Linked DNA regions of Homo sapiens: region 2 is linked to region 1. The links are contacts of gene promoters, found by promoter capture Hi-C in human tissues and cell types (Jung and others, 2019). All regions are on one chromosome and are shown on one strand. The core of a region is centred on a gene start or on the middle of the fragment in contact, and the rest is flanking DNA. Distances in the headings are between cores, read along the strand shown.

Evidence for each region. Contacts are between HindIII fragments. The study calls those that stand out against the background at their distance.
Region 2: a contact is called between a fragment that was not itself captured here and the fragment with the promoter of BBOX1 in region 1, in 2 of the 25 tissues and cell types used here (dorsolateral prefrontal cortex and mesendoderm cells).

The regions. Positions count from the first base shown.
Region 1 is chr11:27,039,365-27,042,454 of GRCh38, forward strand. BBOX1 (gamma-butyrobetaine hydroxylase 1) reads left to right here and starts at 1,451. Exons shown (of 9, transcript NM_003986.3): 1 at 1,451-1,664; 2 at 1,852-2,114. The HindIII fragment of the contact is 6,644 bases long and covers 1-3,090 here.
Region 2 is chr11:26,897,644-26,900,733 of GRCh38, forward strand. No RefSeq gene overlaps it. Among named protein-coding and RNA genes, the nearest start is that of FIBIN, 95 kb to the right of the region's middle. The HindIII fragment of the contact is 6,455 bases long and covers 1-3,090 here.

The DNA of each region.
Region 1 (3,090 bases), core at 201-2,700:
TTGTAAGTTTCCTGAGGCCTCCCCAGACATGCAGAACGATGAGTCAGTAAACTTGATAAATTACCCAGTCAGGTATGTCTTTATAGCAGTGTGAGAATAGAATAATACATACACTGTTGCTGGAAATGTAAATTGGTACAACCGTTATGGAAAACAGTATGGTGGTTCCTCAGAAAATTGAAAATAGAGCTCTCATATAATCCTGCAATCCTACCTCTGGATATATATCCAGAGGATATAGAATAAGTATGTCAAAGAGATAGCTGCACTCCCATGTTCATTTAAGAAGCTTCTTACAGTGGAGAGCAGAGTTTTGATTATTTACCTGTTTCTGAGAATCAATTCTTTATGTGCAAGTCTTTAAACTTTATTAACAGATTTACTTGTCGGTTTATTTATTGTTTGTTCTATTTAATCATTCCATTAGAAACTATTTATATCTGGCACATTCTTGTCAGCAACTTTCTTAAAGCTGAAACAGAATTTACCTAATTTATTCCAGTAATTGTTACTAAAGTACAAAGTGTAAAGGAAAAATTCATTGTGTATATTTCTGTGATGTCATGAATTATTAAAATATAATTATCTGATTGCTTTTGGCATACTTATAACTTCAGTTACCGTGGGTTTAAGATGCTGGTCACATTTATGACGGCACCCACATATACACACCCTCCTCTCATACATGGAAAACAAAACCTGCTGTTGTTTTCACTGGCCAGTGGGTGTCAGTAATTTGACCTGGAGACTTGGGGGAAGAAAGGAGGAAAGTGGAAAAGAGGTTCCTTTCTTCAGATGCAGGGAAACAGTTTAAATTTTATTGTTAAAGGATCTGAAAAAACATCGTTTAGGGAGGGGATGCTGACATTCTGGAAGGGGAGATTTCCCATAAAGGAGGCCACCAGACAGTTGGGCTGCATTTTCTCTCTGTGTGGCTACCTCTTGTTCTTTTTTGACTGAGTCTCACTCACAGCCCTGCGAATCCTTCGGGCAAGAAGCAACAAGTTGCAGGCTGCTTCTACATCTGCCTAGGAAGAGGGTGTTAGGTGGGAGGAGGGCAGATGACTCAAGCGTCTCTCTCCTGGACCTTAGTTTCCACCTGTAGACTTTCTTTTAATGTAATCTAGACTCTGTTAGGACCTAGGACCTGAGACCAGTCCAACAGGGTCTCCCCCACACTGGGCACTCTCCAAGAGTATGCCTGGCAGTCAGGCTCTGAATGCTGGCATGCTGCCTATTCTGGCCTTTCCCTTTTGTTGCCCTAAGGGCTGTGTGTTGTGAATCAAATCACTGGGCAACCAAGTACCTTCAAAAACAGCCCCAAGCTCTCTGGAAACTACTTCCTATTCCAGCCAAAATTGCAGAGAAAGGAGGGCATCAAGCTTAGGGGACCAATCCCTGTCTTTCTACCAGTCCCTGATAACTACTCAAGCTCCCTTTAAAGAGGCTCATATTGGAATACTCTGTTGACAAGTAGATACCACTTCACCTCTGCTAGGGTGAGCGCTGGTAGCTCCTCCCTGTTAAATGCCCATCTCAATGCCTCTGCCCTAAGTGAGTTGTGCAATAAATGAGCTGTCACTCTGAACAGGTGGGAAAGAAGTGAACTGCTTGTTCACTTGCTGCTGTTGCCACTGCTGGTACAGAAATAGAAGGTAAGACAGGTGAGAACTGCTTTTCCTTCTATCAAGAAAGATTCCAAACTGAGGCAATGCTTTGCATTGAGTCCTGGGGTTTTGTGGTTTTGGGAACCAACAGTACTCAAAGTATTTTCTCTTGCTAACTGCTTCCCCTCTAGGCCATAAAGCCTCTTTTCTTTCTTTTTTTTTTTTTTTTTTAAAAAAAACACAGCACAAAAAAACAAAGACAAAAAACCTCCAAGCTCCCTTCAGTAGTTGCTACACCTTCAGATTGAGACATCCTTCCTCATTTACAAACCTCAGCTGTGTCTGGGGGCAGGGCCACAGTGAAACTGCCAGGAGCAAAAAGGCTTCCAAGAAAAAGTACCACATCAGATTGGAAACTGGGGACAGATCATTCCTGGGATGTGACGGGCACCAGAATGCTCCCTCTCCAAAGGATCTAAGGACCAAAGCTGACAGTTTCTTTACTTGGTAAGTTTTGGGTGGTTTGCTGTGTAAAGCATATCTGAGAACAGGTATGATTGAGCTCATCTTCCTTTTCTCCTTATTGCAAGGGTTTGTGAATTCAAGTCTGTGGACTGAGGTGGTGGGGAGCATCCAATTAGAACTCCATTCACATGTAGCTCACAGTCATGTGGGCTGTGCTGGGGATGGTCCATCAAGCATTTAGAATAGGCTTGGTTTTGGAATGCAGTGGATCTGATTGCTTCTTGGCAGCTTCTCTTTCCCAATTATGTTTGGCTTAGTCTGATAGTCAAATTACTTTATAATCCCTAAGCTGATCCAGAAAGTAAACAGAAGAGACAGAGAGAACGCTGTCTAAAAAGAGACTGGGGATGGGGCAAGGAGGATTCTGGTTGGATTTTCAAAATGTTCCCTGAATAATCCACAACCCATCCCAAAGAATGGTGACTGCATATGATACCCTAGCTCTTTGTTAAGCTCAAAAAGCTGACTATAACATGCCTCTTTAAAATGCTGGCCAATTAAAGCCACTATGCACATCTTCAATTGTTTTGTTCCCTTAACGAAGCTCAAGAAGGTATATTACAGGTATGGATTTGATTAAAAACGTAAGGTTTCTCATAATGAATATATGTTCTGGTTTAAATAATTTAGAAATTTTCCTAAAATCTAAACCCAGTACTTTGCATTACATCAGAAAACAAAGCCTTGATAATTTGATTTCCAATCTGAAAATGGTGATTCCACTAAAGTGAAGCTAAAGTTTTCCTTTGTATAATTTACAAATGAAGTGTTTGCATGAAATTTAATGCCTTAAGCAAGACAGGCAGAATTGTGAACCTATTTTAGAGAATGCACTGGTTTTTCTAATGGCATTATTTTTGTTGTTATTGTTGCTGAGATGGGGTCTTGCTCTGTCATCCAGGCTGGAATGCAGTGATGCAATCACAGCCCACTGTAATCTCAAACTCTTGGGTTCAAG
Region 2 (3,090 bases), core at 364-2,863, 140 kb before region 1:
CGCTTGCAGTTTGTCTTTTCTAGTTTAACAATTCCTGTTTTGTGCTTAAATTCCACATTCCCAGTTACACTCCAATTATCCACTTAGATTTTGACTATAACTATTGCAAAATTTATCACCCTTCTTTTCTCTCTGATTCTTATTCTACTATATGGAAGTCTCAATTCGGATCTGTTTGCTGTTTTTTAGTTTATAGAGAAATATTCCCTCAGACGGGATAACTGAGTGGTAGGTACTCTTTAGCATCTTGAATATCTGGACATATCTTTCTCTCATCATGGAAAGCAAATGTGATACTTGGGTTGCAGTCCTTCTTGCTAATATTCTCTACAAGTTACTCTACCATTTTTTAGCTTCCAGTGTTGCATATGAAAATCAAATGCTTATTTGATTTTTATTTTTGTAGATAAATTGTTTTCGCATCAAAAGTTCATGAGTTCTCTTTATTCTTGGAGCTGTGGAATTTTACCAGAATAAGCCTAGATATGTTTCTTCTAACATCTAACATCTTCACAATCTAACATTCAGTTGGTACTTTTTCATATTCATGATACGTTACTAATTTATTTGTTGTTTTTCTTCAACTATTCTCTTTCCGTTCTTTGGAAATTTTATTATTTTAACATGGTAAGTATCCTGGATCTCTTCTCCAGGAAACATTTCCATAATCATTTCCATTTCTTGGTATTTTTATTTGTTCTGAGATATTTATTCCAGGTCCTAACAGGTCTCAACCATAACCCTTGCCTTCTTCTACTTGTCTACATGCTTTTTAAGGTCCCAATTCATGTTTATAAACAGAAAAAGATTGCTTAAAAAAAATTGATTCATTATAGGTAATCTTTTACATTTTAAAATCATGTTATCTCCTCTAGCACTACCATTCCTCTTGAACATGTCTTTTCTCTGTCTTCTATTTTTTTTCCCTGTTTGTTGGGTTCATTTGCCTGATCAGTAGATTTTAGGTACAGTTGTTGGGGTACCTTAAGTGACAGCAGTCTTTGATTGTCAAGAAGCACAGAAGTCTCCACACATGAGATCCACGTCAAACAGCTATCATGAGAATAAACTTTTTCTGTTTTATCATCTCCTAAAATAATAATACTGGCAATAGCTGGCAAAGGCTGACACTCTTCCATTGTCAGGAGGAGAAGAAATAAAAAAAAAACACCTGTTTAACTGACCAGCTCTTGCTACTAAAAGTGTGGTCTTTGGACCAGCAGCAGTGGACTCAAAAGTAAAAACTTTGTAAAGGCCATGAGCTGATCAGTGGAAGCCCTTGATGCCCAACTTGTCTGACTATTAGTCACACCAATTAGATTGGATAGATGCATGGCTTTAGTACGGTGTTGTGCCTCAGGACATGCACATAGACTTAACATGATGTATTATTTCTTGTTGAGCACAACCTACCTAAAATGATGACTACTAAATAGCATACAATGAGTATAGCACATAGTACACTCAAAGAGCCCCAAGATTATGGAATAGTAACATTCCACAGAAAATTTGAGATTCAGAACTTGCAATGATGCTTTCCAAGATCTGTAGGATTCTAGGATTTATGAGATCTGATAGATTATTTTGGGATGAATAGATTCCTGAGTAGAGCCAGTTTATATAGCTTTGTCATTATTCATGAAACACATTTCAACTCAAGGTCCCAAGTCAAATTTCATCAATGATTGCTTTCAAGCATAATAAGTACAACTTTAATAGATTTACAGCATCTTAAGAAGTTGCAAGTTGACTGAGAATTACCCAATGAAGGGTCAACATTCAGAAATCCATGGAATTGCCCCAAATAAGTTCCTTTTTCCTTCAATTTTATAATCAGGCATCATATGGCTATATTTTTCACTGTTCTGTGATTTCCTTTCTTTGGAAAAGGCCATATAATTTTATACATTACTTCATTTTGTTTGTTTTAAGGTGTTTTGAAAAATCAAACTGGGATCCTTTTTGATATGTAGAAGTTAAGTAGTCTAATATCTTTCATCCAATGAGGAACATAATGGAAGAAACTTATATAAGTACATTTAAATATAAGTAATATGTTTGGCAACATAATGTTGGTTGTGCTAGAATTTATCTGGAGACATTTTTAGTATTTATGAACAAGTGCATTATGTCACAAAATGCGGAGAGCCCACAAAAAGGTGACAAGAGTACCAGACAGGGCCTAAAAAGAGACACATTTTGAGTTTTCATTATTCCTATTTCTCCTGGGCATGCCCCATCATTATTTGTTGTGGGATTTGGATCATTGCAGCAATTGAAAGGAAAAGGTTATAAGTTAGTATATAATTTAGTCATAAATGTTAACTAAATAAAACTAAATAAAGCTTTACCCTCCCCCCACAAAAAAAAAACCTTTACACTAAATTTGCTACAATTCTTTGCCTTCTCCAGTGAAACTGCCATGTAAAAACATCCTAAGATTTCTTAAGTCACGTTGGTCCATCTTTTCTTTGATGTCATGGGATCACATAAAAGATGGCGTATAGCAGGGCTCCTGTTGGCAGTAAAAGCATGATGTCACTGAATCAATCATCCAGTCCCCATTAAATCATGGGGCAAAAAGTATCAGCACATTCCATGTTCTTTGCTGCTCTTAAAATCAAGTACACCACAGAACCCTCACTAGGCCTCCAACATTTCACCAAATTTTGGTCTCTGATTCTTAGTTATGTTTTATTATTCAGGTACAGAAATCATAGCTTCCATGGGTGGGAAACAAGGAAAGATAGAAAGGCCACATTTTGGTGATACACACTTCCCCCATGTCTCTAATCATGAAAGGTCTTCTTGCTCTTCTGTTGTGTAGAAGTAGGTGCTACAAGCAAAGCTGATCTTATATAACCTACCTCTTTCTTCTACTTCTTCATTCTTGATCCTCAGGATCTGACACATTTCCCTGACCCCAAATTCCCTCTTTTTTCCTTTCTCACTCTCTACACTCCCTGCACTGTATTTGTTCAAGGTGGAGCCTCGGGCTATATCTTCTAAAGTATTGGAGCTGATAAAAGCTATAGTGCTTACTCAAGTCCAGATTCCTCTTTTTACCTGTGAGTAAATTGTAGACCAGAA